2 separate regions of the Homo sapiens genome follow, and region 1 is linked to region 2. The links are contacts of gene promoters, found by promoter capture Hi-C in human tissues and cell types (Jung and others, 2019). All regions are on one chromosome and are shown on one strand. Each heading gives the region's core, a stretch centred on a gene start or on the middle of the fragment in contact. The rest is flanking DNA. Distances are from core to core; before and after follow the strand shown. Region 1 overlaps EDRF1 (erythroid differentiation regulatory factor 1). Region 2 holds the start of MMP21 (matrix metallopeptidase 21).

Region 1 (5,773 bases), core at 2,899-5,398, 45 kb after region 2:
ACTATTTATCAGTTCTTAATCACAGACAATAGTCTTTAACACCATTTCTAACATCCAAATAAACCACTCAAGTTCCACTAAACACTGCCACCTCAGTCAGCAATTAGGTATTTCAGTCAGAAACAAAATGTTTTACTATTTTTCTTCAAAAACATTTCTGAGTTTGGTCTCTAGGATAATCTTTATCTCTAAATCAAATGTGGCTACAATTAAAATTACTTTGGCTCTTCAAAGAAAAATTGCGTATCTTACATACCTTTACTGATTTGAACAGGATACAACAAATAGCCTTAACAGTGAAAAATAAAGTTGTCAATCAGACAACCGAGGGTAAGGATGGTGTAAAACTGTTGGGAGCATGACTGAGGGAATATTTTAAGAGATGCTTTTTCCCCTTCTCTTTAAAAGAAATTTTACTGGCCTTTATTTAAGAGATGCTTTAATATCCTGAAGTGTGGAATGTGAACCCTATTTATATTAACAAAGTGGTAACAAGGTCTAATAGCGACAAAACAAAGAACTAAGGGCACTACTGTTAGAATTACATGAATTCTAAATTCATTGAGCAGTGCTGTCTGAGAGAAATGTAACATGAGTCACATACAGAAATTTTAAATTTTCTAGTAGCTACATTTAAAAAGTAGAATCTGTGAAATCAACTTAAATATATTTAATCCAATATATGTAATATTGCATTTCAACATGTAATAGGTACAGACATCCAATCTTCAAAATTCAGTGTGTATTTTACACTTACAGCACATGTCAATTCAGACAAAGCACATTTTAAGTGATCAACAGCCACATGTGCTAATGGCTACCACACTGAATAGGGCAGTTACGGAATATGAATCAGGAGGCTTTACTGTCTAGGTAACAATCTCCTATTAGAATGCTAGGATTGTTTTAGAGAATACATAAATGTTAATCTTACTTGAGGATGCCTACTTTTGTCCAGTAATTTCAGACAATTAAGAAGCAATGTTCTAATAGTTCCATAGTGTTTCTTATTTTGATTCTTCTTCATCATCATGTTGCAAGCAACCCTAAAAAAAGAGTTTATATCAACTTTACTGCCCATTTCATCGTTGTCTGCAAGACTCAAGTCTAGGAGTGCTCTTGTTTCTTTCCAACAAAGAGCTATAAGAAACAACAAAATACTAAACTTTACACTTTACCCACAACCCCCAAAACGTTTATACTATGGTGGCATAAGAAAGCTGAGTAATATTTGGTACAATGTGTACGTGTATTTTTCCCCCTACTATGAAAACCTAAAAGCATTTAAAAGCCTTGGTTTGGAAACTGTGACTGTATGCTTTAAAACTTTATATAATAGGCTACTTCTTCATCTTAAATTCTTAAAGCACTCACTTGTACAAGAGAATGGCTACCGGCATTGTGAATGGATTTTGGTATTTGTCTTCAGTTTCTTCACAAAGAGTAGTGAGGTCATAGAGCTTCACTATATCGCTGCCACTTGCTGAAAAGAAAAACAAAGAAGACTCATTTCACAGCAGTTACCCAAATCAATTATTGTTCACTCAAGAAGTATTAATAGCTTACCTTTAAAGAGCCAATAGGTATGTCCTTCTTTGGTACAATTAGATTTCAAAAATGATAAAATATTCTGTGCAATGTCTTTTATGACTTTAGTAGAAAAATTAGAATTTTCCAAATTGGGAATTTCTTCTGTCTTTATCATTTCATATTTCTGTAAAATACAGACAGATGGAAAGCAGTTTAAGAGAAAACCCAAGGAAACAACACCTTTCTTTTTAAAAAGCAACCAAATGCAGAAGTCCTGCAAACAGAGACCTATGTAGCATGAAAGTGTTTAAACCAGTGGTTTTTAATCTTTTTTCTGCCCCAGCCTCCCAAAGGAATCTCATCCACCCCATCAGCAAGGGCAGTTCACTATTGGAGTAATTTCAATGGAGAATCACTACCAGATTTAGAACCTCAGATTCAGGCATGATCTTATTTCTGTTCTAACATGGAACAAATCATACTGACTACTTTTATTCCACTTGAATGGTTTTCAACTGGGAAGATGGTAAATGAAGGTAGGCTTTACCCAGCAAGATTTTAAAACACATGTATTTCTGGCCTTTTTTTTTGCTAGAAACTACAGTCAGTGACTCAAGGAGAGAGAATCATTTAGGAAATTTTCCAGTAGACACCTCTCTTCCCTTCATCTATGGACTTTATTACTTCACAGGGATGGAGCAGGGGGGAATGGAGGTGGCAATAAGAGTAAAGGCTTCATGGACATTACTACCACTATTTTAAAAGTGCCTTTGCATTTTTCTTGTTTATCTTCTGTGCACACTCTCCTAACCATCTCCTACCACATTTTCTGAAGTACTCTAAAACTGGAAACTTCAAATCAACTGGAATGTAAGACCAAACACAATCGTCTGAGGTTGATTTTCACCCCACTTTGTTCATGTGAAGTCCCCAATGTTGATTATTTCCTTCCTTAAAATGCTCCTTTCCTGTATTTTAATCTGTGCTATTCTTGTTCTCCTTCTCTCTCTCTAAATGCCCTTCTATTTTTACCCCTATGAGGAGAGGCTCCAATGTCTGATTTTAATAGATTCCTCTGGTGATGAAATCTGACAGTATCTAGGCAGATGATGCTTCAATTTATTTCTCTAATGGCTGCAACTTCAAAATGCTCACTAGACATTTTTATACTTTCCTCAAACTGAACATGTGACAAAAACATATTACCTTCCCTGTCTAAACCAATTCAACATCCTTATCTCACTAAATGGCACCACCATTATTCTAGTCCCTAAACCCTGGAATCTCCTTTGACTCCTGTTCCCCTCCGCCTTGCTAACGCTTTATCTGCCTCTCTCTTTTCTCTTGCTCCCCACTCCCACCCCAGCCTCTCACTAAATGTTGCCATTTAGGGAGATGGTCTAACAGTGGTTTTCAATCAAGACTGCAAACCAGAATCATACAGCAGACTTTCAGAAAAGACAGAAGTACACATCCTACTGATACTAGAACACTGGGGGCCCAAGCAAGTGCATTTTTTCAGAGACCACAAGTGATTCTGATGCACAACCAGGTTAAGAATCACTGGGTTGGAATATAACGGTTCAAAGCATGTCCTCAGCCAGAGAGAGGCACAAAGACTGGCACCGCCACTCACTACTAAGTTGACCCTGGGCAACTCACTTGAGCTCCTTGATCCTCAGTCTCTCTTTCCATCAAATAGGAATAACAGCATGTGAGGTAGCTAAGAAGATCAAATAAGGTAAAGCATTTAAAGCATTCAGCAAAGTGCTTGGATAAAATAAGCACTCAATAAATGCTATCTATTCTTACCATTGTTGATTCTTAATAGTTCCTCTCTAGTGGAAAGTACATTACACTATCTGCAAAATGGTACAATGCCTCTGGTTTTCTTGTCTCTAAGTCCTCCTTTTCTGTCCTATATGCTATCTCTAAATTAATATTCTAACACAACAAATTTCCCCTCCTAGATGCAAAGCCTTCTGATTCCAGATTACCAACTGAACCAAGTCCATACTCCTTAGCTCAACATTTAAGATCTCCATCATTTGACCATGACTTTTCCAACCTTACTTGCAGCTATTCTGCTACATAAATCCTGTGTTCCCTAGCTGGATTTATTATCAATCCTTTCATGTATTTACACTAGACTTTTAAAATCCAGCTCTTATTTTTTGAGATACTAGCTATCATTCAGGACTCAGTTAAGATGTCCCTTCTTCCACAAAGTCTTTCCTCCAGACCTGAATGGAAGTGCTCACCCCCTTCTCTGATGATCTAGATTTCTGTGTGCTACACTTCTAATTCTTATCTGTCTCCTACTGTTCTCTCTGCATATTATTTCCCATTAGATTATCTCTTTCTGAATAACAACCAAGCTTATTCTTTGTTTTCCTTCAACAATTATTTATTGTTTAAATTCTCAATTTTTTTATTTTTTTGAGACAGGGTCTTGCTCTGTCACTCATACTGGAGTGCAGTGGCACGATCATAGCTCACTGCAGCCTCAAACTCCTGGGCTCAAGTGATCCTCCTGCTTCAAGCCCCCAAGTAGCTGGGACTACAGACATGTACCACCATGCCCAACTAAGTGTGTGCGTTGTTTTTCTACAATTAGGGTCTCACTACGTTGCCCAGGTTGGTCTTGAACTCTCGGCTTCAAGTGATCCTGCTGCCTCAGTCTCCTGAGTAGCTTGGGATTACAGGAATAAGCCAACACGCCTAGCTTCCCCCAACACTTATAATGGGGATACGTGTCTTCTAAACAGAATATGCTCAATAAGAATTTGCTATATAAGCTATCCACCATATGCAATTTTTACAAGACCTTTCCCTAAAACTTTGCATGTACTGAGTAGATATTTGCATAACGAAGAAACGCCTCCATTGTGTAGACACTTTCAGTTAATTATTAATGAGAGCTTGGCATTAAAATTAGAGTTCTATGGCTACAAATGCAGGTTTTCATATATTTATGAACTTCCTCCAAATTACCTGTAAAATTATACTTCTATAACATCTACAATTCTGTTATCACCAACTTAAATGTACACTCAAATTCAGTTTATTCACAGCTATCTTCCCTGGCAAAAATGCACCTTAGTACTTCAGGGCCGTAAAGACTTTGGTGAGGAACTCTCTGTACCAATTTGCATTTGAGAGATCAGAAAAATCACACTGTATCTTACCTGTACAATTCCATTTACATGAAAACACATCACAAGCTCTGGCACATTGCATATCAAGTTGTCCAACCAATAGTCAATTCCAGTTAGCACATTAATTGGTTTGTTGTTATCCCTAAAAATATACATTTCTAGTGTTATTTGGTTTAATTAAGATGTTCCTTAATTAATCATCTGAAAGTTATTTCACCATTTAAGTATCTTAAGCTGTCCTCTCTAGATAGAAAATGCCATCTATGCTTTCTTTTCTGATAAGATATGCACATGCAGCTCAGTGGTTGTGCTATATTTAACATCTTTCCAAAAGCTTGCTTGTATTTCTAACTGACATTGGTAAGTTTTCAGTAAGAATAGAAGACAATATAATAGGAAAGGACGGTGAGCCTACTGCCTGCTCCTCACACACAACTTGAAGAAAGACTGAACACCATACAAGACCATGCTTAAGTTGGAATTCACATTGGCTAATATCAACAAATACACGTGGAGCATTAAGAAAAATGCTCACAAGTAGTTAGTAGGAATCTAACTAATTAAATAAACTCTCTTGAATATTCTCACAAGTTGTAGATTCAGACCTAAGACTAGGCCAGTCCAACAAACCTCTGGCTCTATTCAATGAGGTCTAGAATGAAGACTCAGCTATAGGCCTGCCTTTCAGCATCTGCTGACAGTAGCTCCTTCCTTAATGTGGCCATTTCAACTGGCAGGGGAAGGAGGGAGGGGAAAAAACCTAGAGAAAGAGGAAGATGCCCAAATAGATGGAACACTGATTCTTTTTTGAGACGAGTCTTGCTCTTTCGCCTAGGCTGGAGTGCGGTAGCATGATCTTGGCTCACTGCAACCTCAGTCTGATGGAACACTGATTCTAAAGGAAGAATTTAAATACCATAAGCTTGAGGAGGGGTATGATGTTAGTTCACCTGAGACGTAAGCTGACTGCTGGGTATCTGCCTCCTCCAAATATGGGCATGTTGGAGCCGACCAACATATGGATATCTTCAAATGTCCATAGAATATTCCGAACAAAATCATTTTTAAGACCCTGTGATTTAAAA
Region 2 (5,958 bases), core at 572-3,071:
TAGTCTCTACTGGAGACAGGTGTTAGGGAATGAGGAGCATGTTACAGGTCCTTCTGGGGACAGACTAAGCATTTAGTGGCCTGTATTAGGGTTGTCTAACTGCTGCACCCACCAACCCCAAATCTTAGGCTCCACGCAATACAGTTGTGTTTCTTGCTCCTGTCACAGAGCAGTCAAGGGTTTGAGGGTGGCCTTCCACAGGGGGATTCAGGGATCCAAGCCACTTCTGCTGGAGGCTCTGCGTCTGGTCAGGAGTTGAGGGAAGAGAAATCACAGAGAATAGGAGGGTGGTCTTAGAGTTCAGGCCTGCAAGTGGCACACATCACTCTATCCACTTTTTTTTTCCTTTTGAAACAGGGTCTCATTCTGTCATCCAAGTTGTTGTGCAGTGACGTGATCTCGGCTCATTTCAGTCTTAACCTCCTGGACACAAGTGATCCTCCAGCCTCAGCTCCCCTAAGTAGCTGGAACTATTGGCACGCATGCCACTACACCTGGCTAATTTTTGTATTTTTAGTAGAGATGGGGTTTCATCATGTTGCCCAGGCTGGTCTTGAACTCTTGCTGGTCTTGAACTCCTGGATTCAAGCAATCCACCCACCTTGGTTTCCTAAAGTGTTGGGATTATAGGTGTGAGCCACCACGCCCGGCCGATGCCAAGCTAATTTTTAAACATTTTTTGATAGAAATGAGGTCTCATTTTGTTGCCCTTGCTTGTCTCAAACTCCTGGCCTCAGTCCTCCTGCCTCAGCCTCCCGCAACGCTGGGATTATGGGTCTGAGCCACTGCACCTGGCCTCTCCGTATTTCTATGATTCTCAATATTCCCATGGACGGCTGTGACCCAGTCAGTCTGCACTCTCAGGAGGACATCTGCTCAGATAAAAGCCCAGTTCAGGGGCTCTGTCTTCAGGATCCCAAAGAAACTTGAGGCTTCTCCATGAGGGGAAAAAGTAGTGGGCTGAGGTGATTCTAGTTTATCCTTCTATAAAAATCTTTACCCACAGAATGGGACGCTGTGCAGTCATTAACTAGAACGATAAATACTTACATTCAGAAACAGAAAAGTGCCTGTAACGTTGTGCTGGCTTGTAAGAACAGAGAATAGAGTTCATGTAAAATGAGAGACACACACAAATACTTCTCTAGGCATCTGTGCATATGTATCTGCAAGAATGTTCACTGAAATGTCACCACCGGAATCACAGAATGTCTCCTTCATTCTCAGTACTTTTACAATTTATACTATCTGCTCAGAAGATCTCCTTTATATAAAGATAAACAAAAAGAAGAAAAGCCACACAAAAAATGTGTGAGAAACAAACTAAAAATCTCCAAACCCCAGTTCACCAAGAAAAAAAAAGTGACCCAAACTGTAAGCAAACTAACGGTCAGGGTTTTTAAACTCAGGCTCAGCTCTGAGAGGCATGTTGTTAGGGGCGCAGTCTCGTGCCTCTGTTAATTCCACAGCTCATTTAGCGGCAAACTTGCCCGCAGTATATCTCCATAGAAATGGAACCCACAGGCACTGGCAACTGGAGGATGTAATTATCGGAGGACATGGCAAACTCTGGAGGCTGAGAGAAGGAGTTCTCACACCAACAAGAAAGGTGAGCCTGGGGTCTTCAAAGGCAGCACGCCCAGGGCCTGCCACGTGGCCTCCTAGCGGGCACACTTCAGGGCTGGGTGAGAAATGCTTGGAAACCTGGGTGCTCCCTCCTGCGTAGCTTATAAAAGCCACCCTAGGTCCTGCTCCTTAAGGAGAGGTGACGGGGACGGGGAAGAAGCCAGGCAGGGAGGGCAAGGGTTCAGACCAGGCCAATGCTCGCCGCCTCCATCTTCCGTCCGACACTGCTGCTCTGCTGGCTGGCTGCTCCCTGGCCCACCCAGCCCGAGAGTCTCTTCCACAGCCGGGACCGCTCGGACCTGGAGCCGTCCCCACTGCGCCAGGCCAAGCCCATTGCCGACCTCCACGCTGCTCAGGTAGGAGGAAGCTGGAAGAACAGCAATACCCCCAGGCCCGTGCACGTGCACACAGGCACATGCGCACGCGCGCACAGGCACAGGCCAGGATGCCGGCTGTGCAGAGGCAGAGAAGGGCCAGGCAGGCTGGGCTGAGAGGGAGGAGTGGCTCCTGTGGCTCCTATTGGAACAACCATGAATCGATGCTTAACCTGATTCGACAATCCCACAGGTCAGCCCTAGTGAGAAAGAAATGTCAGTGCGCAGACAACAGACTCAAATGCCAAGTGCCTTTCCAAAGGCAAGCATGTGATACTGTAGTGGCCAAGGCACTGTCCGAAGGCATTCTGTGGCTGCTCACCATGCCAATCTCTGGATGTAGAGAAGGGGACAGCCCTGCAAGGTTCCCCAACACCGCAATAGTAAGGATCCTAACAGCTGTCTGGGGTGGCATCCGTGGACTTCACCGGAGTCTGTGGTGAAGCACCCAGGAGGTCCAATGCAGGCGATCCCCTCCTCCAGAGAGTCGTGGTGGCGGGCAGGGAGTGGACCCATGAGGCCCCTTCACCTGCTCTGGCACGTGGTCCTTTGGTCACCATAGGCCAGGAGCTGATGCTCAGGGTCAAGTCCAATCCCCAGCTCCCACAGTGCCCCAGAGGCCAGGGCAGGGAGCAGGAGAGCCGCCCTGTGGCCAGGCCCGCAGCCGCGTGGAGGCCGCTGACCTCCCTCCCGCTGTGCGGCCATGAGGAAGCCCCCCAGGTCCTCAGACCCAACCACTGCCAAGCCCCTCAGTTCCAATTCCCAGCTCTCAGGACGTGCCTCCCATGGCTTTCTCTGCGGTGTGGCCACGCCCGGACTTCCTTGGCACCCCCCACCTGCCCCGCACGACCTGCCCTGCGCGACCTGCCCCGCAAGGCCGGGGGGAGCGTCTTCCTCCCCCGCGACCTCTTACCTCCTCCCGGCACTCGCCCACCCCGCTGCCCAGGTCTCCTGCTCCTCCGGCCCTAGGGCGCCTCTGACTCAGCCTGGTGCCCATCCAGGGCCCGCACTCAGGAAGGCGCCCAGGACTCGCTCCTTCTCTCCTGTCTACCTCTCTCCTGTCTCTGTCTCTCACTGCCGCTCTCTCTGTATCTCTATCTCTCTCTGTCTTCCTGTTTCTATTGCTATCTCCATCTGTTTCTCCCTGTCTGTCTCTCTGCTTCTCTCTGTCTCTGTCTCTATCCCCATGTCTCTGTCTCTCTAGACTTTGGGGCAGGGCAGCCCGGGAGGGCCCCGAGCGAGGCGGCCCAGATTAGGGTGCCTTTCTCTCCCACAGCGGTTCCTGTCCAGATACGGCTGGTCAGGGGTGTGGGCGGCCTGGGGGCCCAGTCCCGAGGGGCCGCCGGAGACCCCCAAGGGCGCCGCCCTGGCCGAGGCGGTGCGCAGGTTCCAGCGGGCGAACGCGCTGCCGGCCAGCGGGGAGCTGGACGCGGCCACCCTAGCGGCCATGAACCGGCCGCGCTGCGGGGTCCCGGACATGCGCCCACCGCCCCCCTCCGCCCCGCCTTCGCCCCCGGGCCCGCCCCCCAGAGCCCGCTCCAGGCGCTCCCCGCGGGCGCCGCTGTCCTTGTCCCGGCGGGGTTGGCAGCCCCGGGGCTACCCCGACGGCGGAGCTGCCCAGGCCTTCTCCAAGAGGACGCTGAGCTGGCGGCTGCTGGGCGAGGCCCTGAGCAGCCAACTGTCCGTGGCCGACCAGCGGCGCATTGTGGCGCTGGCCTTCAGGATGTGGAGCGAGGTGACGCCGCTGGACTTCCGCGAGGACCTGGCCGCCCCCGGGGCCGCGGTCGACATCAAGCTGGGCTTTGGGAGAGGTAAGAGCACCCCGGGCTCCCTGCCTGCCCGACCCAGCCCCTCGGGGACCCCGGCGCACCTACCCCCACCTCGGCCACCTGCAGAATGGGGGGCTAAGCCCTCCCGGCCTGTCCCGGGGGCACCTGTCAGCGGGGCAGGCAGAAGCCACCGGTCAGCGTCGTCTTGTCGGAATCATGGTCACCCTGCAGATAGCCTGGTGTGGCCTACTGGGACACTAGGGCCGGCCCTGGGCACAGGCTGCTGCCCGGGCTGCTCCTCAAAGTCCCACTCGGGCCCCCTGCCTGTGCCTCCAGCTTCCCTAGGGAGCAGCAGCTGGGGTCTCAGGACAGGGCAGGGTCAGGCACAAGTTGCCACCACCTCCGTCTTACAATTGGACAAATGCGGGACAAAATACCTTGGACGTCTAGCAACAGAAGTGTTTTTAAGGGGCAGACCAAGCAGAAGAGGATCACTGCCACCTGAAATTGGGTGCTGGCGTCCCCAGGAATCCGGTCTTGGCCTAGACTCAAGGATGGGTGGGATCTGGGATACCCACAAAAAGGCACCCAGAATGGAGAGTGGGTGAGGGCATGGAAGTGGTCAGAGACAAGCAGCAAGCAGACAAGCCGCTTTGCAGCCCCATCTGTGACCCGGGGGTGCTCAGGGCTGTCTTCTGGTCTCACTGGGTTAATGTCCCAGGGTGAGAAGTATAGGGACACGGTTGGCTGAAAAAGACAAATTTTAAGGGACCCAGCTTTCAATATTTCACGACCTCCGCAGAGGCGAGGATCCGGCCCCGATCTTGTCCGGGTGAGGCCTTTTTGCCATCTTCCCAGGCCCCCAGCCGGGCTCTCACCCAGCCCCGCTCCCCTCTGCTCCCAGGCACTTGGTGCCTGCTGGTCTCTGACAGTCTGTGGACTGTAAACACAGTTTACAAACAAACCGTCTCCCACCCTCCGCACATTGAGGACTTAATCCAGGAGCTGCCACTCTGTCTACCTCTGCTGCCGGCTCCTGGAGGCTGGGGACCCCCTAGGTGAGGAGTCTGTATGGGGGGCACTCATCCTTCACCGGGACCAACTCCTCCTCCCCCTCGCCAGGCCGGCACCTGGGCTGTCCGCGGGCCTTCGATGGGAGCGGGCAGGAGTTTGCACACGCCTGGCGCCTAGGTGACATTCACTTTGACGACGACGAGCACTTCACACCTCCCACCAGTGACACGGGCATCAGCCTTCTCAAGGTCAGTGGTCCTGAGCCACTGTGTTGATAAGACACCAGCAGTGCTCATGGGCTGACGTCCAAAAAGTCCAAGCTTTTCTCATGTAGTGTCCGCAACCTCTGAGGAGGTGAATCCGTGGAATGGCTCCCCAGTTCCACCGGTGCTCCCCTCTTCACAAGCAACGCTCCTCTCGAAGCACAGGCCTGCGTCTGTTATGCAGGGATCCATCGCCCAGGCTTCACCCAGCACCCATGGTGTGTGTCCCCTTCTAGGTGGCCGTCCATGAAATTGGCCATGTCCTGGGCTTGCCTCACACCTACAGGACGGGATCCATAATGCAACCAAATTACATTCCCCAGGAGCCTGCCTTTGAGTTGGACTGGTCAGACAGGAAAGCAATTCAAAAGCTGTATGGTAAGACTGCTGCGGAGGGCATCCCTGAGCTAGCGGAGGACACTGTATTCCAGAGCACTGTAGGACCCCGCTCACTCCTCACTGGGAAACTGGGCCTAAGAGCGCAACGTTGTACAACTCATGTCACCCAAGGGTAGCCACCCTCTAGCTCCCTGATGCCATTCTCTCAGTTAAAAAGTGGTTTTGCCCAGTCGACAGCCAGTCCCTCCTGTGTCCTCTCTCACCACATGCATTTCCCAGGAGGACAGTGAATGCGGGGTGGTTTTCTCAACACAAGCGGGCCCCCAACCCGTGCTGTGGCATCCCACCAGAGACGCACACACTGGAAGCCCTGGGAGTTTACTGCAATCCCAAAAAACTGAGCTTAGCCTGGCCAGGATAAGCTCCAATCTCTATTTAGAATCGTTCAGGCCAAACGTTCTAGTGGTTGATTATTTAATTAAAGTGGTTAGTGATTTAGTACCGAGGCCCAAGGGAAGAAAGCTGTCCTCCTCTTTTCCATTCAAAGGTCCCTAGGCCGGGCACAGTGGCTCA

What was found. Contacts are between HindIII fragments. The study calls those that stand out against the background at their distance.
Region 1: a contact is called between a fragment that was not itself captured here and the fragment with the promoter of MMP21 in region 2, in 2 of the 25 tissues and cell types used here (mesendoderm cells and pancreas).

What each region holds. Positions count from the first base shown.
Region 1 is chr10:125,729,345-125,735,117 of GRCh38, reverse strand. EDRF1 (erythroid differentiation regulatory factor 1) reads right to left here. Exons shown (of 25, transcript NM_001202438.2): 8 at 5,639-5,760; 9 at 4,719-4,830; 10 at 1,567-1,714; 11 at 1,375-1,483; 12 at 935-1,046. Among named protein-coding and RNA genes, the nearest start is that of EDRF1, 13 kb to the right of the region's middle. The HindIII fragment of the contact is 4,632 bases long and covers 1,833-5,773 here.
Region 2 is chr10:125,771,684-125,777,641 of GRCh38, reverse strand. It overlaps MMP21 (matrix metallopeptidase 21), which reads left to right and starts at 1,821. Exons shown (of 7, transcript NM_147191.1): 1 at 1,821-1,982; 2 at 3,277-3,811; 3 at 4,892-5,031; 4 at 5,283-5,424. The coding sequence starts at 1,821. The HindIII fragment of the contact is 11,499 bases long and covers 1-5,958 here.